5 separate regions of the Homo sapiens genome follow, and all the other regions are linked to region 3. Evidence: promoter capture Hi-C in human tissues and cell types (Jung and others, 2019). All regions are on one chromosome and are shown on one strand. The core of a region is centred on a gene start or on the middle of the fragment in contact, and the rest is flanking DNA. Distances in the headings are between cores, read along the strand shown.

Region 1 (4,986 bases), core at 2,076-4,575, 140 kb before region 3:
ATATTACCTGGGCCTGGTAGTGTGTGCCTGTAATCCCAGCTGCTCAGGAGGCTGAGGCAGGAGCATTGCTTGAACCCAGGAGGTGGAGTTTGCAATGAGCCAAGATCACACCACTGCACTCCAGCCTCAGCGACAGAGACTCTGTCTCAAAAAAAAAAAAAAAAAAAAAAAGCATTGAATTCTAATTCTGTTGTTTGAGGCATTATTTATTCTAATGAGCTTTGTAATCTCCACAAGGTTGGTAAATATACTGTACTTTATGATTTTTATCCAGTACTTCTAAAACTATTGCATAGTACTTTTGGTTAAACATGGAGGTTTGATCCAATATACCTATTTCCTTTCTTCAAATAGCATTAAAATGATAATAAGGGAACAAAAGAAACATGAGATCACAGGGACAAAAGTGAGTGAAAGAAGAAACCACAATACATGAGAAACTTCAGTTATTTTTTAGAAGATTAAAAAAATGGGTTCGGGCGGGGTGGCTCATGCCTGTAATCCGAGCACTTTGGGAGGCCGAAGTGGGCAGATCACGAGGTGAGGAGATCGAGACCATCCTGGCTAACATGGTGAAACCCCGTCTTTACTAAAAATACAAAAAATTAGCCCGGTGTGGTGGCCTGCACCTGTAGTCCCAGCTACTCGGGAGGCTGAGGCAGGAGAATAGCTTGAACCCGGGAGGCAGAGGTTGCAGTGAGGTAAGATTGCACCACTGCACTCTAGCCTGGGCAACAGAGCGAGACACCATCTCAATAAAACAAAAAACAAACAAAAAAGTTAGAAGGGTGTTAAGTGATTTAGCTAAGCGGAGGAAACTACACCCTTTGTTGTTTTTAGAGGGGCTTGTCAGGGAGAAGCAAGTATACTGAACAGCAACAAAAAGTATACTCAACAAAACTCAGGACTTGGTAGGAAAGAGACTTAGGACTTGGTAGGAAAAGGTCTCTTAAGAAACAGATGAGGCTTGAGATTAAAATCAGGTAGTGGTGAAATGTCTTTCTTTTTCATTCTTAAAAATTTTTAAGTTTTTTTAGAGACAAGGTCTTGCTTTGTTGCCCAGGCTGGAGTGCAGTGGTGTGATCATAGTTCACTGCAGCCTTGAGCTCCTGGGCTCAAGTGATCCTCCTGCCTTAGCCTCCTGAGTAGCTAGGACTACAGGAGTGCACCACTGTGCCTGTGTAATTTTATTTTATTGTTTTGTAGAGATAAGTTCTCGCTGTGTTGCCCAGGCTGGTCTTGAACTCCTGGCCTCAAGTGATTCTCCTACCTTGGCCTCCCAAAGTGTTGAGATTATAGGAGTAAGCCACTGTGTTTGGCCTAGGATACTATTCTTAAAAATCTTTCACAGGCGGGGTGTGGTGACTCACACCTGTAATCCCAGCACTTTGAGAGGCTGAGTCCAGCGGATCACTGGAGGCCAGGAGTTTGAGATCAGCCTGGCCAACATAGTGAAACCCCTTCTCTACCAAAAGTACAAAAAAAAGAAAAAAAAAATTAGCTGGGTGTGGTGGGGCGTGCCTGTAGTTCCAGCTACTCCGGAGCCTGAGGCAGGAGAATCTCTTGAACCTGGGAGGCTGAAGTTGCAGTGAGCTGAGATTGGGCCAGTGCACTCCAGCCTTCCAGCCAGGCTGATGGAGCCAGACTCTCAAAATATATATATATATAAATAATCTTTCAATAAATAGAAACTTATTGAAAATTTTAAAATATGATAATCCTCTGTCCCCCAAAAAGAATTAGTAAAAATTTGGAAGTAAAGTCAAAGCAATTTGGATATAGGAGAAAAATTATTTAACAAATTAAAGATTCACTGGGTATGGTGGCTCATGCCTGTAATCCTAGCACTTTGAGGGGCTGAGGTGGGTAGATCACTTGAGGCCAGGAGTTTGAGATGAGCCTGGCCAACATGGTGAAACCCTGTCTCTACCAAAAATATAAAAATTAGCTGGGTGTGGTGGTGGGCGCCTGTAATCCCAGCTACTTGGGAGGCTGAGGCAGGAGAATCACTTGAATCTGGGAGTTGGAGGTTGCAGTGAGCCGAGATTGCGCCACTGCACTCCAGCCTAGGCAACAGAGTGAGACTCTATCTCCAAAAAAAAAAAAAAGAAAAGAAAAAGATAAACCAGGAGGTCCAATGTTTGACTAATAGGAATTCTACAATGAGAGGACAGAGAAACCAGAAAAACTTCCAAAATATTTACCAGATTGAAAAATATAAACTTCTAGATTGAAAGGACTGATAGGCTGGGCGCGGTGGCTTATGCCTACAATCCCAGCACTTTTGGAGGCTGAGGCAGGCAGATCTTGAGGTCAGGAGATCGAGACCATCCTGGCTAACACGCCGAAACCCCGTCTCTACTAAAAAATACAAAAAATTAGCTGGGCGTGGTGGTGGGTGCCTGTAGTCCCAGCTACTTGGGAGGCTGAGGCAGCAGAATAGCGTGAACCCAGGGGCAGAGCTTGCAGTGAGTCGAGATTGTGCCACTGCACTCCAGCCTGGCTGACAGAGCGAGGCTCCATCTCAGGAAAAAAAAAAAAAAAAGGACTGATAGAATAATAACCTCAGACCAAGAGGCTTGATGATGAAATTTTGGTAAACTGAGGATAAAGAGAATATACTAAAAGCTTCCAAAAGTAACTAGAGGTTACATTCAAAGGACCCCAAATTAGAATGGCATTATATATCACAGCAGAAACTTACGAGGTCAGAAATGCATCAAGCAGTGTCTTCAGATATCTTCAGTGGAAAGGATTTTCATCTTATAATTTTATTGCAAGCCAAATTATCAATCAGATGTGAGTCTAAGGTAAATACATATTTTAGACATGCAAGAGACTTAAAAACCTGAGTTCCCATGAGCTGTTTTTTCATAAATTACTGTGAGATGTTCCCTTAAAAAGCAAGTGAGACAATATGGGGTACTGGAAACAATGCAATAAAAGAGAAGAGCTACTGGAGAGCCCAAGATGACAGTTGTGTAGCCAGTCTAGGGAATTTCTTAGAGTGTAGGAAAAGAAAGTGTTCTGGGAATGTTTAGCACCAGAGAAAAACAGTATCTGATGCATTTGAGCATATGGAAAATATTCAGATGTGACAGATTTTGGAGCAGTTGAGGGAAAAGAGTCTAGAAAGTAGAAAAAAATATGATAGCCTATATGTAGGGTGAGAAAGAGTCCATAGTCCTATTGTCTGCTTGTCCTGACACTGAGTAGTATCTAAATACTAAATATTCACACGGACGCTTAATTTAAACAAAGATTGTGAGAAAATTACACTGAATACAGCCAGAAGCAGTGGCATGTACTGTAATTTCAGCTACCTTAGAGACTGAGGCTGGAGGATTGCTTGAGGGTGTACTATGATCGCTCCTGTGAATAGCCAGTCTACTTCAGACATAGCGAGACCCCATCTCTAAAAAAAAAAAAATTTTTTTAAATTCCGTTGTTGTCTTTTAGTATCCACCTCTTAGTTCTTTCCTGTGTTACAGATGAAGTGAAACTAAGGGAAATGGAGGAAGGAGGAGGAGAGGTGGACATGAAATAATATTGTCACTTTGAATTTTAGTTTCTTTCCTTTCACTTCATAACTTCAAAAGAAGTTTTCAGTAGGGCATGGAACATTTCCAGGATTAAGCAGCACCAGTTCAACATGAGATTCAGTCATATTCAGTTCTTCAGAGTTCATGGAATCCTCCAGGTCCTAGACTGTTGCTGAGGATGGTTAATGTCAAATAAATTAAAAATACTGAAAAGAAAAAAATAAAAGTGTGTAGATGCTCTATTTTTGGACTGAGAGCAGTGAATTGGTAGTGGACATAGGTTTGGGTTAAGTAAATGAAACAGAAGTCAGCATAAAAGAAAGCTCAGAATATTGAGTCAGATGTTAGAAGGTGTCCAAAGCAGAAAGTTTGACCTATTAAGTAATGTGTCTGTTAGCTAAATGTATTCCTTCCGTAATGTTTTTATCTAGTGATTTCTTTCTTAGGAGAAGTTTAGTCATGAGACGGCAATGCACTGGCAGTAGTTAGCTTCTAAAAAGCAATTTTATTTCTGCTAGGGACAAGATGTTGGGCGGAGGAATTATAAACTTACTTTGTTTTAGGTTTATCTGGCCAAACAAAAATGTTTTTCCTTTTAGATTCGGGCAAGAAAACTGGCCAACTGGAAAAAACATCTGGTGTTGGTTGAATGAAGGAATGGCATAATCAGTAAAAATTACTTATAGGAAAAATACACATTTAAAAAATCTTCTGCAGCTTCAACTCTGGATTTTTTTTAATGAAAATTGATTCTTAATCTCTCATTAACATTTTCCTACCACCAAAAGATTTGACCTGTATTGGGCTACCTTTGTATGTTAGAAATTTTGCTTAATCTATGAAATTTCTTTTTTTAAATTTCTTAATCTATGAAATTTAGATCGTGAGTCATAAACTTCTTCAATAGAGAACCTGTTTTTGTAGTATTTGCTATTTAACAACCACCCTGTAACTTTGTGGCTTAAAACAATTCATTATGCAGCCTGACGGTCCTGCCATCTCCCCAATAGGTCGCTCATAAGACTGCAGTCATTTGGTGACTTGAGTGGGGCTTACGTGTCTAAGATGGCCTCACTTATACTCTGAGACCTTTTGGTGTTGCTGTCAGCCAGTTCTTGTTCTCCACATGATCTCTCATCATTCAGGAGTTTAGTGTGGACTTCCTTAGATGGCTGCAGGAGTCTGTCAAGAGGGTAAAGCTTTATTGTCTCTTAAGTCCTAGCCTGGGAAATCACAGTGTTATTCCTGCCACATTCTTTTTTTCTTTTTCTTTTTTGAGACAGGGTCTTGTTCTGTCTCCCAGGCTGGAGTGCAGTGGCACGACCTTGGCTCACTGTAACCTCTGCCTTCCCTGGCTCAAGCAATCCTCCCGCCTCAGCCTCCTGAGTAGATGAGACTGCAGGTGTGCACCACCACGCCCAGATAATTTTTGTTGTTGTTTTTG
Region 2 (5,018 bases), core at 1,773-4,272, 180 kb after region 3:
TATGTTGGCAGGCTAGTCTCAAACTCCTGACCTCAGGTGATCCACCTGCCTCGGCCTCCCAAAGTACTGGGATTACAGGCACAAGCCACTGTGCCTGGCCAATTATTACATTTTTAAATTTTTTTGTAGAAAAATGGTTTCACTATGTTGCCCAGGCTGTGGCCTCAAGTTATCCTCCCACCTTGGCCTCCCAAAGTGCTGGGATTACAGGCATAAGCCACCCTGCCTGGCCTAAATTTATACATAAGTAGCCATATGTGGCTAGTGGCTACTGTATCGGACCACACAATTCTGTACAGCTAATGCACAGCACACAGTAGCATACTATACACGCCCTCCTACATCTTGCTTTACTCCCTTAACAGCACCTATGTATTCTGGAGACAGATTGCCCCAGTCTGCCCCCCACCTTTATTTTTTTTTGAGATGGAGTTTTGCTCTTGTTGCCTAGGCTGGAGTGCAGTGGCGCTATCTCGGCTCACTGCAACTTCCGCCTCCCGGGTTCAAGCAATTCTCCTACCTCAGCCTCCCAAGTAGCTGGGATTACAGGTGCCTGCCACTATACCCAACTAATTTTTGTATTTTTAGCAAAGACAGGGTTTCTCCATGTTGGTCAGGCTGGTCTCGAACTCCCAACCTCAGGTGATCTGTCCACCTTGGCCTCCCAAAGTGCTGGGATTACAAGCGTGAGCCACCTCACCTGGCCTAGTCTGCCTCATTTTTAAAAACTGCTGCATAATATCCTCTTGTAATCTACAAAGGCAATCCCTCACCCAGCCTGGAGAGCAATGGGTCATCATGTTTTTACAACAAGCTCTAAAATCTTCCACATATACCGTAACCAAGACACTTCGAAACAACCCTAGGTTCGTCACACCTCCACTTTTGTCGGCCTGAGCCTGAGATAGTTTGACATTGAATAGTCAATTTTAGGGGCTGGGGGAGATAATTTACCATGAATCACTGCTCTAAAATATACTCTTCACCCATGAGGCCCATGCCTGGCATTCAGTAGTGCTGGTGGCATTCTTTAGAGTTAATCATAGTTCTAAGTGGTTCTCCTTTAAAGAGCAAAGTCTCCTGAGAAAGATGGCCATTAAGACAAAACATCTGGGGCTGCTCTTGCTTTTATCCTGATGAGAGGGGCCAAGGGGCTTTGTAGAGCAGCAGGGGCTCTGACGGTGAGCCTCACTATTCTTAAAATTGTCCTTAAGAGGACAGGTGCTTTGGCTCATGCCTGTAATCCTAGCACTTTGAGGGGCAGAGGCAGGAGGACTGCTTGAGTCCAGGAGTTTAAGACTAGACTGAGCAACACAAGGAGACCCCGTCTCTACAAAAAAAATCTTAAAAAAAATTAATTGGGCATGGTGGCACATGCTTGTAGTCCCAGCTACTTGGGAGGCTGAGGTGAGAGGATCACCTGAGCCCAGGAGCTTGAGGCTTGCAGTGAGCCAAGTGCACCACTGCATTCCAGCCTGGAAGACAGAATGAGACTGTGTCAAAAAAAAATTGTCCTTAAGTCCCATCTGGATCCCTAGACAGCCTTCCTCTTAGGGCATTTCAGGTGGTGAGCCTCTTTCCAGCTTTAAATGGCCTTTAGAGTAATTTCACTAACCTGCCTTGGTGTTTGGCTCTGTATAAACCCTTTCTTCTGGAGGGCAGCAGTAGACATGGGATTTGGTGGTCTGACACATCTGGGGACAGATCCCAGTTTCAAATGGCAGAGTCTGTTTACAGCTTACAGGGGAAATACTTAGCACTATGTGCTGATCTTTAGGAAATAAGTCTATGTTTCTTTCTTTTTTTTTTTTTTTTTGAGACAGAGTCTCTGTCACCTAGGCTGGAGTGCAATGGCGCAATCTCAGCTCACTGCAACCTCCACCTCCTGGGCTCAAGCAATTCTCCTGCCTCAGCCTCCCGAGTAGCTGGGATTACAGGCACATGCCACCATGCCTAGCTAATTTTTGTATTTTAAGTAGAGATGGGGTTTCACCATGTTGCCCAGGCTGGTCTTGAACTCCTGACCTCAGGTGATACACCTGCCTCAGCCTCCCAAAGCACTGGGATTACAGGTGTGAGCCACCACGCCCAGCCCAGTCTATATTTCATAACAAGTGTTGCAAACAAATGCTTGTTCCTCAGTGCTGCAAAGAAGAACCAGCACTTAAATAATTTTCTCAGCAAGGCAAATTTACTTTCTGCAGAAAGGGTGCTTCTTGGAAGCTGGACTGCCACGAGAGCACACTGAACAAAGAAAGGCAGGAGTTCTTATCCCTGACGCACTGGGCTTCTACTGCTGTGTCCTACCTCCACTGGTTGGAGCTGCACCTCACAATCTAAACTGATCCCGACTGGCTAAAACCTTGAAATTTTCCTAAATAGGTAAAGGTGCAATGGGAAACAAAGGAAGGGAGGGGACTTTTTACAGGAAACTAGGAAGGCAATAACATTTCCAAATAAGGAAGGGGCATAGGCTGCAAGCTGGGACATGCCTGGGCATGTTCAGGCATGTCTGGACAGACTTAGGGAAAAAATGAGATAGGCCTTGGTTACAATATAAGAACACAGAATATACTCACTCTTTTACTCCATTTAACAACTACTTGGGCTTAACAAAGAATTATTAGTAGAATAAAAGATCTGTTAGTGTGAGATATGAAAAGCTGTGGAGATTTAAAAGAAATATTTAAATAAATCCCTTTTATTCAAAAAGGTGAACTTGAAGAGGCACTTATCTTTATCAACAAGTCACATGGGGATAATGAAGGAATGGCCTAAAATGCTCTCCTGAGTCATCCCTGAGGGCCAGGCTTGGTGTTAGGCATGGTGGGGAAGGGAGTGGGGTTGTGTGCAGAGGAGGACATGATTCTTGCCTTGTCAGGGTCCCTGACCTGATGGCGATCCATGTTGTCATGTTCATAGTGACAGACACCACAGCAAGAGCAGACCCAGGTTGTGCAATCCCCAAAGCAGAGCTCCTCACTCACTTGGATAGATAGAACTATTGGCCTCAATTCCTCAGCCCTCTTAGTACCTACCGCTTGCCATGGTTTCGTTGTGGGTGGAGGATACTTTCTTGCCCCGGCTTCAGACTTGCCCATGTGGCTTGCTTTGGCCATGGAATGAAGCAGAAATGAAAGCCTACCAGTTCCAAGCCCACACCTGAAGATATCTTAGGCGGTTCTGCGGGCCCGCGTGTGCTTCCACCTTCATCCAGATGCACTTCTCTGGTGCAGCAGCCGCTTCTTCAGCTTTGGCCCAGAAGGAACGGAGCCCCCTGGTGGATCCGCAGGCCTGCAGGGAGCCACAGAGCACGTCCAGCGTTCACTGAGGGGATGACTGCGTGTCACCCGCTGCCCAGCTAGAATGACACCTCTCCAGGCCTCTCCACCACGTTACTCCACCATAGACTCCCTGCCTGCTTCTTCTGCAAAGCCTTGGACACCCAAACACCTACCAAAAAGTGGGTAGGGTGCCAGGACACCTCCAAGTATAAGTGGGGCTCCCCACCACGCCTAGATGTGGAGGTATGCTGCAGAGTGGTGGCTGCTTGTGACACTCATTTCACCCCTGTCTGTGCAGGTGACAGAAGCCCAGGAACCACACGTCAAGTCTCCTTTGCCAGCAGGGTGCTGCCAAAAAAATGCAGTCATGTAAAATTTGGAATATGGAAAGGAGGTAGAAGTCATCCTTTCCTCCCGGCTAGCAGCAGACATGCAGGCTCTGGTAGTCAGCTGGACTCCATATTCCCCCATCAGTCACCAGCCTGGGGACCATGGAGCTGGAAGGACCTCAGCAGCAGTTTCCCAAGTTTGCAGAGGCCTGAGGCCTGAGGTCCTCCCAGGGGACCTCACACTCCTCCCGCTCAGCAGCCAGACGACTTTCTGGTTTGAGTTTTCTCTGTTGGGGCTTCACTGCCCCTGGGATAGGAATTAAAATGCCAAGCTTGTTGATTCTTGAAAGGAGCAATTCAACTTTTCACTCCCTCTTCATTTTAGATGGGAACCACGAAGGCTCTGTCGTTTACTCCACGTCCTTGTGAAAGATGTCATCCTTGTTGGAAGACTCCTTGCCGTGAGGTTTCTGTGCCATGTTTTTCACGCGTGCAGCACTGGGAGGTCTGTACATACCCCTAAGCCAGAGTGGCTGTCTTAACTAGACAAAGCCATCCTGGAGGATAGGGAAATATGCATTTTGCATGTCCTCTGCTTTCTCTGGCCACAGCAATGAATCCTCCAATGTACCTGAGTTTCAGTTCGCCATGAGCATCTCCTATGTGGCAGAAATCTGAAAATGCCTCCGGGGAGACACGTGGACAAGACAGTGAGTGATGCTGCCGTTCCCACGCCTCTCACAATGTACTTCTCTGGTCTTATTAGGACTAAATGAGTACCTCAGTCCATAGTAACAGTGATTAGAACCACTGCAGACCACATACCTGGGGTCTTGAAAATAATTCCAAGCATGCGGGACTTTCAGAAGCTCTCCATGTCTGTCCAGAAGGGCCCCACAATGTCTCGGGGAGACTTTGTATGTGGCTCAGCATGGAGCCTGAGCAGGATTTTCAGCCCCACTCACCCCCTTGGCCAAGTGCTCTCGTGCAGTGAACACCCATGCTGGGCAGAAGCATTTTACATCAGTCCTCTTCGGAGTTAGTCTCCTTGGCATCATTTGATGGGGGGTGGGAAATGAAGTAGTTCTTGGCTAACTTCTTGGCCCCTGCACCATGTGAGGCTGTTCCAGCTCCCTTGGGGCTGGACTCCTGAGCCTTTTTTTCTTTGGCAGTGTTCTCTACAAATGCCCGGGCATCCTGTGATCCGCCCGCCTCGGCCTCTCAAAGTGCTGGGATTACAGGCGTGAGCCACCGCGCCGGGCCAAGGTATAGCCTTTCTACATTGCAGAGTCATTCAGTTTCCAAAATTATGGAGCTTGTATTATTAGAACCAATGAAGTGAGTAAGAAAATTTTTTAAAATAAGCCATCAATCCGGACCTGTGTAGGTAAATGAAGGAGAAGCA
Region 3 (4,557 bases), core at 925-3,424:
CCAAAGCCCCTGCTCTTTGGGAGGAGACAGGGGCACCTCCCCCAGAAGATCTCCAAACTCAGAAGAAGGCCCTGTGTGTTCCAGCCCAGGATAAGTGGAGGGCCTGATGTTGCTGTCTCAATGCTGCAAGCATCCCAGCATCTGAGCTGCCCAGGGAGGGAAGGCTGGACTGGCCTGGGCTGGGCAGGAGTGAGAAGGACAGTCCAGTGGGAGATGGGGGAAGGTTGGCCATGAACAGGCCTTTGGGGAGACTGATTTGATGGCACTCAGGCTCCATCCCACCTTCCTCAGGAAATCTCGAAGTCAGAGCCCCTACAACCATGAACCCTCACTGTGCCCTTGTCCTACTTCTGCCACTGGCAAATAAATCTCTATTCCTGGACAGGGTAACCTGAGCAGGGCTCCAATGGTGAGCTCGTGCTTGGGAGGGCAGAGATCCTATGAATGGCTGTGTGCATGGGGGGAGGTGAGTGGGGGGTGGAGGTGTTCACCCCACCCCTCAACTTTCAGGCTAGCATAAGGGCCCCCTTCAGCACCTCAGGCCCCCCATGTGGCACCCCCCACCCACAATCTTACCACCCACAGCAGAGGAGGAGGGAGACTTAAACCCAGAAGTCTCTCCACCCACACCAGGGAAAGGTTCTCTCAGCCACCAGTGCATCTCCCTTTTCTTGGGCAGACCAAGAGAGGAAGCCAGATCTGCTGGTCAGAGCCAGAAGGGGCAGAAGGAAAGAGGGCTGGAGGTGAGGGAGGGGGACCTGAGAAAATGGGTCCCAGATAATCAACATGCATTAGAAGAGGTATCTTGGTCAGGTGTGGTGGTTCACACCTGTAATCCCAGCACTTTGGGAGGCTGAGGCAGGAGGGTCACTTGAGCCTAGGAGTTTAAGACTAGCCTGGGCAACATAGCGAGACTCCATCTCTACAAAAAATTTTAAAATTAGCTGGGTGCAGTGGCATGTGCCTGTGGTCCCAGCTACTTGGGAGGGTTGAGCCCAGGAGGTCCAGGCTACAGTGAGGTGTGATCAAGCCACTGCACTACAGCCTGGCCAATAGAGCAAGATCCTGTCTCCAAAAAAAAAAAAAAAAAAAAAAAAAAAAAAAGAAGAAGAAGAGAAGGAGAAGAAGAAATATTGGAAATATCTTGAACGGGCACAGTGGCTCACGCCTGTAATCCCAATACGTTGGGAGGCCAAAGTGAGAAGATCGCTTGAGCCCAGGAGTTGGAGATCATCCTGTGTAACATAGCAAGACTTGTCTCTACCAATAAATTTTAAAAATTAGCCAGGCATGGTGGCGTATGCCTGTGGTCCCAGCAACTAGAGAGGCTGAGGTGGGAGGATTGCTTGAGCCTAGGAGTTTGAGACTGCAGTGAGTTATGATCGCACCACTGCACTCCAGCCTGGGTGAAAGAGTGAAACCCTGTCTCTAAATAAAAAAATAAAAAAATAAAAAATAGAAGGTTATTGTGGAGAGAGGGGCACCTTGGAAGGTGATGGTGAGGACCTCTTCCCCCACCTCTCTGTATTATCCCCTGATCTAACTCCAGTTGTGGTAGGATCTTTAGGAGGGGAGCGTGTCTCAGAGAAGTTTGGGGACTTTGGGTGTGAGGACTGAGCCCCCATCTCTGCTGAAGTTCAGACGCCAAGACTGGAAGGGGATAGAGTCATCCGGCTTTCCATCACAAGGAGGAATTGTCCGGCCTGGCCTTTGACACATACACCATAGTCCAGTTGTGTGTATATTTGGAGAGAGCCTTTTCAGGGTATAAAGGCATCCAATTAATGGCACAGATGGGTCCCCATTCTTCCTTCACCAACCTCTGGCATCTATCAATCTTCGCTCTTTGGAAGTCCTAGCTTCGATCTCACTCTCCGCTATCTTGCTGCGGCCCCAACCTATTTCTATTCCCTGCAACCCATCCAGACGCTACTATGATCTCCCCAAGCTTCCCTCAATCTGGTCACGCCCCTCCATCCCGGGTTTTTCAGTGTGAAACTCCCTCCTCCGCTTCTTTCCCCGCCAAGCCCCGCCCCATCGTGTCGAGCCCCCCAAGACTCCGCCCAGTTCGCCCTCCTGGCCACCGAGGCAGCCAATAGCTGAGAGCCTGATTTGCAGGGCTGCGCGGGGGAGCGGCGTAGGGCAGGGGGCGGGACCAGGCGACCTCCTAAATCAAAGTTGGGCGGCGAGGACTGGGCGGAGGGGCCGCCGGGTGCCGGGCTGGGGCCGGCGGGGGAGGGGAGGGGATGGGGGGCGGGCGCAGCGGACGGCGGAGCCGGCTGGACACGGACAGCTCCTTGGCTCCCTCCCTCGGCTCATCCCCGCGGCCCCACTTCCCTCCTCCCCGCGCTGCGAGCAGCATCCTCTGCAGACCCTCGGTCCTCGCGCCCGGGGTCGTCCCGCTCCTGCGGCTCAGCGTGGTGGCCTCCCCTCGCCCGCCACCCCGGCAACTTTCTCTGCCCGCTCCCGCGGGTTGGGGGCTGCCGTGCCGGGGGCTAACTGGGGGCAGCCTCTGGAGAACGGCTTCAGAGTCCCGGAGACGCCCGCCACCCGCAGCCTGCCCGCGGTGGGCCTGCCGTCGGATCTCGGCACCCTCTCCTCCCCTCTCCCCGAACCATGACCGAGATGAGCGAGAAGGAGAACGAACCGGATGACGCGGCCACCCACAGCCCCCCAGGGACCGTCTCCGCCCTCCAGGAAACCAAGGTAACTTGGGGGGCGCAAGGCCTGTCCGCGCCCCGGGCCCGGGCGCCCTCTTCCCGGCGGGGTCCTCCTGTGGGCCCGGGCGTCCTAGGGTCGCGGTCGCGAGGCCCGCGTGACCACTGAGGCTCCGCGCCGCTCCCGGGGGTAGGAGTGGGTTGGCGACGAGGGGCCACAAGGAGCCCCCGATCACACCGGCACCGCACGCCCGCGCGCGCCATCGCGACCTTCTGGGGAGGCGGCCACTGGTCTTCGTTGGAGAGATGGGCGCAGCGAGGCCGGAGGGCGCGCGTGGAGCGGTGCGGGCGGGGTACGCGCCCGGCTGTGCGTGCGAGGCGCACCCTCCAGCGGCCGCCGGGTCCCAGTCCCGGGCTCAGTCCGCGCCTCTATCCTCGCTCGTGTCTCTGAATTTGTCTCTACAACCTGCGTGTCTGTGTCTTGGTGTCTCTGTGTGCGTCTCTCCCCGTCTCTCCCGGCGTCTCCGGGTGTTTATCTCCGCGTCTCAGGGCGTCTCTCCCTGCCCCTCCGCAGTCCTGCATTCCCCGCTCCTAGCCCTGTTGGGCTCGGGGACGCGAGGCCGCGGCCGGGGGTGCGCAGCTGCGGAGTCCGCGAGGGGGCCTGCAGCAGCGCCGGCCGTCGGTCACGGGCGAGGACGGGGGCCTGCGGTTGTGGCTCCAGACCAGAAAGACAGGCAGCCCCGCGCCCCACCACGGGAGCGGGACCAGAGGAGGGGGAGCGGGTAGAAGCAAAAAGAGAAGTCATCGTAATTAATGAATGTCATCATTAACCCTAATTATGGATGATTGTTACTCCTGAGGGAGTCACCATGAATAAATTACTCCCCGCGAAGGCAGGCGGAGCCCAGACTCCTGGCGCTGAAAGGGGTGTGGGGAGGCCGCCGCTCACACTCAGCACTCCCCCGACCTCTAATCCGTCTGCTCCCTTCCCAAGTTCTAGGTGCTGGCGACTGGCCCGCGAGAAGTTCTGTTTCTGCGGGATCAACCTGAGCGGGCCTGGGGTTGGGATAGAAAGGGCTGTGCCAAGGGCGCGCCCTGCCACCTCCCAGACTTCAGGCCAAGACCTCCTCCCTCCCCCTTCACCCGGTATTTTGTTCCCATCCTGCTCCTGTTCTCCAGAGGCGAAAGGGGACAGTGAGGACCAGAAATGATGGGAGCCTGGGCTCCGGAGGCGTCCTGGGTTCGCTAGGCTTCTTTCCACTGTCCCCCTTCCTCCTTCTTCCATCTTGACCATCCCGCAGGAGCTGAGGTTAATTCAAGGTCAAGGTCATCAAGGGAGTGACCGGAGGAGGAGGCCGTAGGGTCAGGGTGGAGTCTGGCAGAGGCACCCCAGGGAGCCCCCATCCTGCACCAGGGGACCCAGCAGGTCTCCACATTCAAGTCTTCACATGCACACCTGACTCTCTCTTGCCCCCTTCTAAAAATGAGACTCTGGTCTGTGAGGCCAGAGCTGACTCCCCTTTAGAGAGCCAAGTCTCAGTCTCTCCTGGGAAAGGACTAAGATGTTTGGGTGGGAGGATATTGCTTGGAATATTTGTGACAACTTCTGTCAAGCAGAAGGTCTAGGAGCTGAACCTCCCCTGAGTTCCAATGCCCCTGATTTCGGTTGCCCTCTAGTCACCTGGGTAGACATACACAGTCCCCCTGCTTGCCTCCAGGGGCTTGGGGGCCTCCCAGGCCCTGCCCTGTTTCCCACACCAAGGCCTGTCCTCTCCAGCCTCCTCCTATGTGGGAGTGCTGGAAGGCGGGCAGGAGTGTGGGGTAGTGCTGCCTCAGTACTCCAGCAAGCTGCCTGCTCAGCTGTGTGGGGAGGGAAGGTCAAGGGCCACAGGTCTGTACC
Region 4 (4,782 bases), core at 246-2,745, 240 kb after region 3:
TGTGCACCACCACGCCTAGCTAATTTTGTGTTTTTAGTAGAGACAGGGTTTCACCATGTTGGTCAGGCTGGTCTCGTACTCCTGATCTCAGGTGGTCCATTCGCCTTGGCCTCCCAAAGTGCTGGGATTACAGGCGTGAACCACTGCGCCCAGCCAACATGCATGATTTTGTATGCATGCTATATTTCTGTTAAAATTTTAAGCACTTATATACATATAAATATTAGGAATACAAACACATGTGGTAAAACTATAATTAAAAACAAAGGAATTTAAAAACATGAATTCAGGATAATGGTTACCTCCAAGGAGAGAAAGAAGGGAGGGGACCTAGGAGGGAATCCCAGTGGACTTCAAAGTTCACAATGATGTTGTTCCTCACGTTTCTTACATGAGTGGTGGGGAATACATAAGGGTCCATTGTATCATGATTCTTTATTACTTTATATATTTTGCAAATATTATTTTGATCTCTTCAATATTTAATAATTTTTTTTGAGACAAGGTCTCACTCTGTCACCCAGGCTGGAGTGCAGTGGCGTGAACGTGGCTCACTCTAGCCTCAACCTCCCAGGCTCACGTGATCCTCCCACCTCAGCCTCCCAGGTAGCTGGGACTACAGGTGGGTGCCACCATGCCTAGTTCATTTTTTACATTTTTTGGTAACATTTTTGGTTTCATCATGTTACCCAGGCTGGTCTCAAACTCCTGGGCTCAAGTGATCCTCCCATGTCAGCCTATCAAAGTGCTGGGATTATAGGTATGAGCCACCACACCTGGCCATAAATGTAATTTTAAAAGACATTCCTAACAATATAGTTTTTTTGTTGTTGTTTAAGTTTGGGCTTTATTTGTAAATCTGGCTCAGTGTCAACACCAAGGCCATCTACTTGATTGGACTTGTCTAGACTGCTTCTTTTCCTAATGCCTTTGTGGTGCTGTGTGATGACCATAACCCTCAGAAAAAATACTTGTGATGGACAATTTCAATACATAGTAAACTATCATTCTTCTTTATGCAAGTGGCTAAAAGGAGAAAATGGCCCTTTTCGGGGTAAAGTTTTACTGAGGCTCCTCAGGTACCTCGAAGGGTACAAACCGGGCCACTATGTCCTTTGGCTGCGTGCAGCCCATTAGCTTCCTCGGCCATTTTCCAACGTTAACAAAGGAACAATACCTAAAATACAGCCTCAGGACAGACGTGGTGCCTCACTCCCATAATCCCAGCACTTTGGGAGGCCAAGGAGGGCGGATCACTTGAGGCCAGGAGTTCAACACCACCCTCACCGACATGGTGAAACCCTGTCTCTACAAAAAACACAAAAATTAGCCGGGTGTGGGGATGCATGCCTGTAATTCCAGCTACTCGGGAGGCTGAAGCAGGAGAATCACCTGAACCTGGGAGGCAGAAGTTGCAGTGAGCTGAGATCATATCACTGTACTCCAGCCTGGGTGATGGAACAAGACTCCGTCTCAAAAAATAAATAAATAAAATAAATAAAATACAGCCACATAAGTAGCCTGTCATGTTTGATAATAAAAACATTTTTCTAGGATAAAGTACCAAGTATCTCTACTATTACATCAGAAAGTATGTACAGCTTATTATAATGGGAGTCCAGAGAGCTGCTTAGCTGAGCCCCCATTGTCACAAAGGGTCATCAAATTCAAACTTTGACGTCATCTCCAAATGAGAGCACAACAGTCTCAAAAATGAGCAAGAATGAAGATATCCCTACAACTTTATGTTGTTGCTTTGAAAAAAAAAAAAAAGAAGAAATGAAGATATTCATTATACAGCCTTAAGCATATGTCCCAATACCAGCCCACACACTTTCTTTAGTGCCCTGTGAATTAATATTTCATATGTCCTATTATTACCTTATGACTGGCACAGTTATATTGCAATGTATTCCTTGGTTTGGAATTCTAACTTATTAAACATAAATTTTTTTAATGTAACACAAATTTTATAACACTGCTTTGGTGTTTCTTCGTTTTGTAATATGAGCTTTTAAAATTTTGGGTTGGTTGTCTTTGACTTTGTAATGAAAAAAAATTGACAGATTGACAGAGCACGGTGGCTCACACCTATAATCCCAACACTTTGGGAGGCTAGGGTGGGCAGATGACCTGAGGACAGGAGTTCAAGACCAGCTTGGCCAATATAGTAAAACCCTGTCTCTACTAAAAAATACAAAAAATTAGCCAGGTGTGGTGGCAGGTGCCTGTAATCCCAGCTACTCAGGAGGCTGAGGCAGGAGAATTGCTTGAACCTGGGAGGCAGAGGTTGCAGTGAGCCAAGATTATACCACTGAACTCCAGCCTGGGTAACAGAGGGAGACTCAGTCTCAAAAAAAAAAAAAAAAAAAAAGGTGGAGAGAGGGGAAGTTCTGGAAATATCCCAAAGCTTTTTCTATCATAACTTAATATTATATTTTTATGTCTAATTAAATTTGCAGCCAGGTACAGTGGCTCACATCTGTAATCCGAGCACTTTGGGAGGCTGAGGCAGGAGGATTGCTTGAGCCTATAAGATTGAGGCTGCAGTGAGCCATGATTTGTGCCACTGTACTCCAGCCTGAGTGACAGAGCAAGACCCTGTCTCCAAAAATAAAAATAATTTTGCTTACACTGAGCATAATATGCATAGTGAAATCTGCATAGTGTGACATATTTCAAGGAATTTATTTATTTATTTATTTATGACAGGGTCTTGCTATATTTCCCAGGTTTTAATTTGCAGTGTATTCACAGGCACAATTATGTGCACTATAGCCTAGAACTCCTGGGCTCAAGCCATCCTCCTTTTTCAGCCTCCTGAGTTGCTGGGTCTAGACTACAGGTGCATGCCATTGCTCCCAGCTCTCAAGGAATTTATTTCTTTTCTTTTTTTTTTGAGACAGAGCGTTGCTCTTCCACCCAGGCTGGAGTGCAATGGCTGATCTTGGCTCACTGCAACCTCCGCCTCCTAGGTTCAAGTGATTCTCCTGCCTCAGCCTCTTGAGTAGCTAGGATTACAGGCGTGCGCCACCACGCCTGGCTAATTCTTGTGTTTTTAGTAGAGATGGGGTTTCACCATGTTAGCCAGGCTGGTCTCAAACTCCTAAACTCAGGTGATCTGCCCACCCGGGCCTCCCGAAGTGCTGGGATTACAGGCGTGTGCCACCATGCTCGGCCTCAGGGAATTTATTTCAATGAAGAATTTTGCCTAAGAAACTCAGGTAATCTCTTTGGAACTCAGCTTTCTCATCTGTAAAATGAGAGTGTTCTGTGTCAGCTAAAGTGCTTTCCAGTTTTCTGCCTTTAGGATATCCCCCCGCTTCATTTGAAAAATCATATTGTCGTATACAGCTTTCTGCTGCCACCTTCTGGGAGAATTGCAGCACACATTTCTCCTTGAAAATGAGCTCTTCAGTAACAGTAATGAGCTCTTCGATACTGTGGCTTGTTTACTTAGTAATTTCAGTCAACTAATAAGAATTATAGTTTTCTGGGTTTTCCAAGTTTCAGTGTTTTTGATTTTTAAAAAATTCCACATGAGTCAAGCCTGAACTTTGACCATCTGGAAATTAATTTTTTAGCAGTTTTTCCCACATGGGAGTATTTTTCATACTTGTCTAGTGCTTTGCAGTGACTGACTTGCCAATTCTATTCACACAGAATTTGCTTCAATAAGTGTCTTTGGTGATGCACTCATGAGGTCTGATAAGAAGTATTTAATAGAACATAAGAAGTATTTAATAGGACAGAAAAAATATTTTATTTAAATTATCCTTTTTTTTTTTTTTTTTTTTTTTTTTGAGTAGGAGTTTTGCTCTATTTCCCAGGCTGGAGTGCAGTGGCACGATCTTGGCTCACTGCAACCTCCGCCTCCCGGGTTCAAGTGATTTTCCTGCCTCAGCCCTCCGGAGTAGCTGGGACTACAGGCGCCCACCACCACACCCAGCTAATTTTTGTTTTATTTTGTTTTGTTTTTGTTTTTTGAGATGGAGTCTCGCTCTGGTCACCTAGGCTGGAGTGCTGTGGCGCGATCTCAGCTCACTGCAGCCTCTGCCTTCGGAGTTCAAGCGATTCTTCTGCCTCAGCCTCCCGAGTAGCTGGGATTACAGGCACGTGCCACCACACCCAGCTAATTTTTGTATTTTTAGTAGAGACTGGGTTTCACCATGATGACCAGGCTGGTCTCAAACTTCTGACTTCAAGTGATCCACCTGCCTCGGCCTCCCAAAGTGCTGGGATTACAGGCGTGCGCCAATGCACCCAGCCGTTCTATAGGTTTTGACAAATGTATAATGACATGTATCATAGAGTTCCTTTATAGTATCATACGGAGCATTTTCACTGCCCTAAAAATCCTCTATCTCCCCCTAACCAATCCCTGGCAATCATTGATCTTTTCACTGTCTCCACAGTTTTGCCTTTTCCAGAATGTCACGTAGTTGGAGTCATACAGTATGTAGCCTTTTCGGATTGGCTTCTTTCACTTAGTAACATGCATTTAAGTTTCCTCCATGTCTTTTCATAGCTTGATAACTCATTTTTTTTTAGCACTGAATAATATTCCATTGTCTGAATGCACCACAGTTTATTTGTCCATTCACTTCCTGAAGGACATCTTGGTTGCTTCCAAGTTTTGGCAATTATGAATAGAACTGCTATAAACATCTGTATGCAGGTTTTTGTGTAGATAAGTTTTCAACTGATTTGGGTAAATACTAAGTAGTATGACTTCTGGGTCATATGGTAAGAGTATATTTAGTTTTGTAAGAAACTGACAAA
Region 5 (5,006 bases), core at 532-3,031, 200 kb after region 3:
GAGGTAAACAACCCACACATTCAGTTTGGTTCTTAAAGGTTGTTACTCAGACTTGACAGTTGATGACCAAGGAAGTAATACTTTCACTAGCAGGGCTGCCCAGGTTGGAAAGCTGAGAGCAATCAGGGCCGTCTCTTACAAGCAAATAAAGGTCTGTGGTAACTTAATTAGGATCTCTCAGTCTCTAAGCCTTCAGCACTGTGAAGCAGGAGCAACTCTGTTCAGGGACTCTTTGTTAATCATCAGGTTTCCTTTAGGCACAGCCTATAACATTTGTGCCACTGTAGAAGTGAATGGGGAATACAAACAATGCCATTCAATAGCATGACCACTTCCAAGGTTCACAGCAAAGCCGCTGATTATTGTATAAGAATCATACTTACGGCCTGCGCGGCAGCTCACGCCTGTAATACCAGCACTTTGGGAGGCTGAGGCGGCAGGATCACCTGAGGTCAGGAGTTCGAGACCAGCCTGACCAACATGGTGAAACCCCGTCTCTACTAAAAATACCAAAAATTAGCCAGGTGTGGTGGTGCATGCCTGTAATCCCAGATGCTCAGGAGGCTGAGACAGGAGAATCGCTGTAACCCGGGAGGCAAAGGTTGCAGTGAGCCAAGATCACACCACTGCACTCCCGCCTGAGCAAGAAGAGTGAAACTCCATCTCAAAAAAAAAAAAAAAGAAAAGAAAAGAAAGAAAAGGAAAGAAAAAGAGAAAAAGGTTTGGTTGGCTGGACATGGTGGCCCATGCCTGTAATCCCAGCACTTTGGGAGGCTGAGGCAGGTGGAGGCCAGGAGTTCAAGAACAGCCTGGCCAACATGGTGAAACCCCATCTCTACTAAAAATAGCCGGGTGTGGTGGCACAAATAGTGGAGAAAATTATGGATACCACCCTCCAAGTGATTGAGATTATTAATTCTAGGTAGCAGGCCAATTCAGACATATCCACTTATCCTCAATGGCAGGAGGCCTCTCATATCTCCTCACTACAACCCAGTTCAATATTTCTGTCTAAAGTCTAGGATTTCAATGTTGAAAGGAGAATAGGGTTGGTGAAAGAAAATCTACAAGGTTTGCCCTGATGATCCCTTTTGACCATCCATTGAAACCAAAGTAGCAATTTGTCAGTTCTTGGCATCGGGAACTGTTTAGGGCAATGGCCTGACATTGAACTGCCTTATGTCTGGTGCCGAGACGAAACTACAGTCACAAGAGATAGACCCATAAATATCACAACCTGCCAGAGATTTTATTTTGCATACACCTGACATTTATCAATACCAAGTGTGCAAAGAAAAGAAATTGTTTCAGTCTTCCCATTCAGTAGCTCCTGCTTGAGTATGTGACCTGAAGAACAGGTAAAAAGAACCCAACACCCATCCCCCTCCCCAAGTGACTAACCCGTGTTAAATGAAGAAATACACGTACCTCTATGAATTTTACAAGCAACTAAAACAACTAGAGGTTCATCTGCATTTATAAGCTTATTTGGGAATGCAAGTATCTACTGAGTGTTAATTCTTGAAATAATTTACACATTCCTGTGGATTTCTTACATCATCAATTCTTTTTGTTTTGTTTTGTTTTTTGAGACAGAGTCTCGCTCTGTCACCAGGCTGGAGTGCAGTGGCGCCATCCTGGCTCACTGCAACCTCCACGTCCCGGGATCAAGCGATTCTCCTGCCTCAGCCTCCCAAGTAGCTGCAACTATAGGTGTGCAAATCAATAAAGAATTAACTTTACTGTTAATTCTTATTAATTTCTAATACAAATAGATTTGACTTCATTTGTATCATTTGAATTTCATGAATATAATCATATACTACACTTAAAAAATAGACATATAAGAAAGAATTGGTGATGTAAGGCTGGGCACGGTGGCTCACACCTGTAATCCCAGCACTTTGGGAGGCCGAGGCGGGCGGATCACGAGGTCAAGAGATCGAGACTATCCTGGCTAACACGGTGAAACCCCGTCTCTACTAAAAATACAAAAAAAAAAAAATTAGCCGGGTGTGGTGGCGGGCACCTGTAGTCCCAGCTACTCAGGAGGCTGAGGCGGGAGAATGGCGTGAACCCAGAAGGCGAAGCTTGCAGTGAGCCAAGATTGCGCCACTGCACTCCAGCCTGGGCAACAGAGCGAGACTCTATAAAAAAAAAAATTAAATTACTTTCTCCAACTGAAGAGAAGGAGAAATGCATGTTGGGAAGGAGAAATGAAGACTAATTTTCGAATGTTGAGTGCTACCGGGAAGACTGGCCGGTATCATGAGTCACGGTGGAGTCTTTCTGGACAACCAGGATGCTTCAGAAGGACTCGGAGCTGCTGGGTGGTACAGACATTTGTCACCTTGGATAACCTTGCCACAGTTCTTGCTGGCAACAATTTCCCTTCATTTCACTGAAAAAAAAAAAAACAAAAACAAAAACAAAACCCTCTCAGGTGCCTTAGGCCTTTCCTTGATTTTATTTTAAAACATTATTCTCTTTTCTGTATTTATAAAAGGCAAAAAACACAGAAACTAGGTGTATGTGCTAAAGTAGAAAAGAACACTTAAACTAGATAACAGTGGGGGTCGAGTAGTAACCCCAGGCTCTAAGTTCAGTAAATAAATAAATCTAATATGAATTACATTTCTCCTCTCACCTGTCTGTTGAGTTGTAGAACATTTCCTTCATTGCTGCATCAGTGATGGGCTTTATGCTGTGAAATTCTCAAAACCTAAATCTTATGAAATGGTCTCAATGTCCAAAGAGCACTAAAAACTCATTACTTACAAAATGATACCAAGTAACTGTTTCATTTTTTTTTTTTTGAGATGGAATCTCGCTCTGTTGCCCAGGCTGGAGTACAGTGGCACGATCTTAGCTCACTGCAACCTCTGCCTCCCAGGTTCAAGTAATTCTCCTGCCTTAGCCTCCTGAGTAGCTGGGATTACAGCACGCACCACCACGCCTGGCTAATTTTTGTATTTTTAGTAGAGACGAGGTTTCACCATGTTGCTCAGGCTGGTCTCGAACTCCTGACCTCATGATCCACCCACCTCGGCCTCCCAAAGTGCTGGGAATACAGGCATGAGCCACTGCACCCAACCCGTTTCATAATCTTTACCGTACCTTTATATTTGAATGGCTATGTGAAATGGTCACAGGTTAGAAACATCATAGTCCAAAAGTTAAATAATACCTCGCAGGTAATTGTTTCAGTTACAGGAAGTGGAACCAGGACTGAAGAGGATTTTTATGGGTTCAGAATGGGAGAGTGTGTGCTGACTGGTTTGTGAGTATGCCAAAAAGGCTGAAAAAAAAAGGCACCACTTAAAGATGGGCACAGCGTAAAAAAACAGGGAAGAGTAGGCATATGTAAAATAGGTTAAAGGCAGGGATCGATCAGAGGAAAGCGTGCCAAACAGAAAGAGAGGTTCTCAATCTGTCCACGGATTTATCCAAGACTTGTAGCTTGGCTTTCAGCCTTTAAACTGTCTGGTTTGGAGGTCAGCTTTCATTGGGGACCCACCCCTGTCTGCCTAGGATCTGTCTGCCTCCTGCCGCTATCAATACCTTAACTTTAAAATATTGCCTAAAAAATGCTGACAATCATCTGAGCCTCTGGCAAGTCATGATCTTTTTGCTGGTGGAGGGTCTTGCCTCAATGTCATGCCTGCTGACTGATTAGGGTAGTGGTTGCTGAAGGGTTGGGTGGTCATAACAATTTCTTACAATAAGACAACAGTTATGTTTGTCACATTGATTGACTCTTCCTTTCACAAAAGATTTCTCTGTACCATGCACTGCTGTTTGATAGCATTTTACCCCCAGTAAAACTTCTTTCAAAATTGGAGTTGATCCTCTCAAACTCTGCTGCTGCTTATTAACTAAGCTTATGGAATATTGTAAATTCTTTGTTGCCATTTCAACAATGTTCATAGTATCTTCACCAGGAGTAGATTCCATCTCAAGAAACCACTTTCCTTGCTCATCCATAAGAAGCAACTCCTGGCCTGACGCGGTGGCTCACGCCTGTAATCCCAACACTTTGGGAGGCTGAGGCAGGCAGATCACCTGAGGTCAGAAGTTCGAGACCAGCCTGGCCAACATGGTGAAACCCCATCTCTACTAAAAATACAAAAATTAGCTGAGCATGGTGGCAAGTGCCTGTAATCCCAGCTAATCGGGAGGCTGAGGCAGGAGAACCGCTTGAACCCGGGAGGCAGAAGTTGCAGTGAGCCGAGATCACACCACTGCACTCCAGCCTGGGGCACAAGAGCCAGACTTCATCTCAAAAAAAAAAAAAAAAAAAAGGAGCAACTCCTCATCCATTCAAGTGTTATCATGAGATGGCAGCAATTCAGTTTCATCTTCAGGCTCCACTTCTAATTCTGGTTATCTTGCTATTTCCACAACATCTGCAGTTACTCTCCACTGAAGTCTGAACTCCTCAAAGTCATCCATAAGCATTGGAATCAACTTCTTCTAAATTGTTGTTGTTGTTTTTGAGATGGAGTCTTGCTCTGTCACCGAGGCTGGAGTGCAATGGCGTGATCTCAGCTCACTGCAACCTCTGCCTCCTGGGTTCAAGCAATTCTCCTGCCACGGCCTCCCAAGTAGTTGGGATTACAGGCACTCACCACCACGCCCAGCTAATTTTTGTATTTTTAGTAGAGACGGGGTTTCACCATGTTAGCCAGGATGGTCTTGATTTCCTGACCTCGTGATCTGCCTGCCTCGGCCTCCCAAAGTGCTGGGATTACAGGCGTGAGCCACCGCGCCCACCCAAGAGGAAGCACCATCTATGTCAGCAATAGCCTTACAGAATGAACTTCTGAAATAATAAGATTTGAAAGTGGAAATTACACCTTGATCCATGGGCTGTAGAACAGATGTTGTGTTAGCAGGCATGAAAACAACATTGATCTCCTTGTACATTTCCGTCAGAGCTCTTGGATGACCAAGTGCATTGTCAATGAGCAGTAATATTTTTTAAAGAATCTTTTTTTCTAAGCAGT

Evidence for each region. Contacts are between HindIII fragments. The study calls those that stand out against the background at their distance.
Region 1: a contact is called between a fragment that was not itself captured here and the fragment with the promoter of STAC2 in region 3, in 6 of the 25 tissues and cell types used here (IMR-90 fibroblasts, bladder, dorsolateral prefrontal cortex and 3 more).
Region 2: a contact is called between a fragment that was not itself captured here and the fragment with the promoter of STAC2 in region 3, in 2 of the 25 tissues and cell types used here (spleen and stomach).
Region 4: a fragment that was not itself captured here is called in contact with the fragment with the promoter of STAC2 in region 3 in 2 of the 25 tissues and cell types used here (dorsolateral prefrontal cortex and spleen).
Region 5: a fragment that was not itself captured here is called in contact with the fragment with the promoter of STAC2 in region 3 in 2 of the 25 tissues and cell types used here (dorsolateral prefrontal cortex and spleen).

The regions. Positions count from the first base shown.
Region 1 is chr17:39,364,442-39,369,427 of GRCh38, reverse strand. The region is part of intron 1 of FBXL20 (F-box and leucine rich repeat protein 20); the gene reads left to right. Among named protein-coding and RNA genes, the nearest start is that of FBXL20, 35 kb to the left of the region's middle. The HindIII fragment of the contact is 6,030 bases long and covers 311-4,986 here.
Region 2 is chr17:39,044,362-39,049,379 of GRCh38, reverse strand. It overlaps the pseudogene LRRC37A11P. Among named protein-coding and RNA genes, the nearest start is that of LINC02079, 20 kb to the right of the region's middle. RefSeq lists an enhancer at 2,105-3,304. The HindIII fragment of the contact is 7,953 bases long and covers 1-5,018 here.
Region 3 is chr17:39,223,562-39,228,118 of GRCh38, reverse strand. It overlaps STAC2 (SH3 and cysteine rich domain 2), which reads left to right and starts at 2,174. Exons shown (of 11, transcript NM_198993.5): 1 at 2,174-2,706. The coding sequence starts at 2,617. RefSeq lists an enhancer at 2,416-2,916. The HindIII fragment of the contact is 22,351 bases long and covers 1-4,557 here.
Region 4 is chr17:38,981,907-38,986,688 of GRCh38, reverse strand. No RefSeq gene overlaps it. Among named protein-coding and RNA genes, the nearest start is that of FBXO47, 17 kb to the right of the region's middle. The HindIII fragment of the contact is 7,886 bases long and covers 1-4,782 here.
Region 5 is chr17:39,019,588-39,024,593 of GRCh38, reverse strand. All of the region lies in intron 1 of LOC105371767 (a long non-coding RNA gene), which reads left to right. Among named protein-coding and RNA genes, the nearest start is that of LINC02079, 5.0 kb to the left of the region's middle. The HindIII fragment of the contact is 5,779 bases long and covers 1-4,670 here.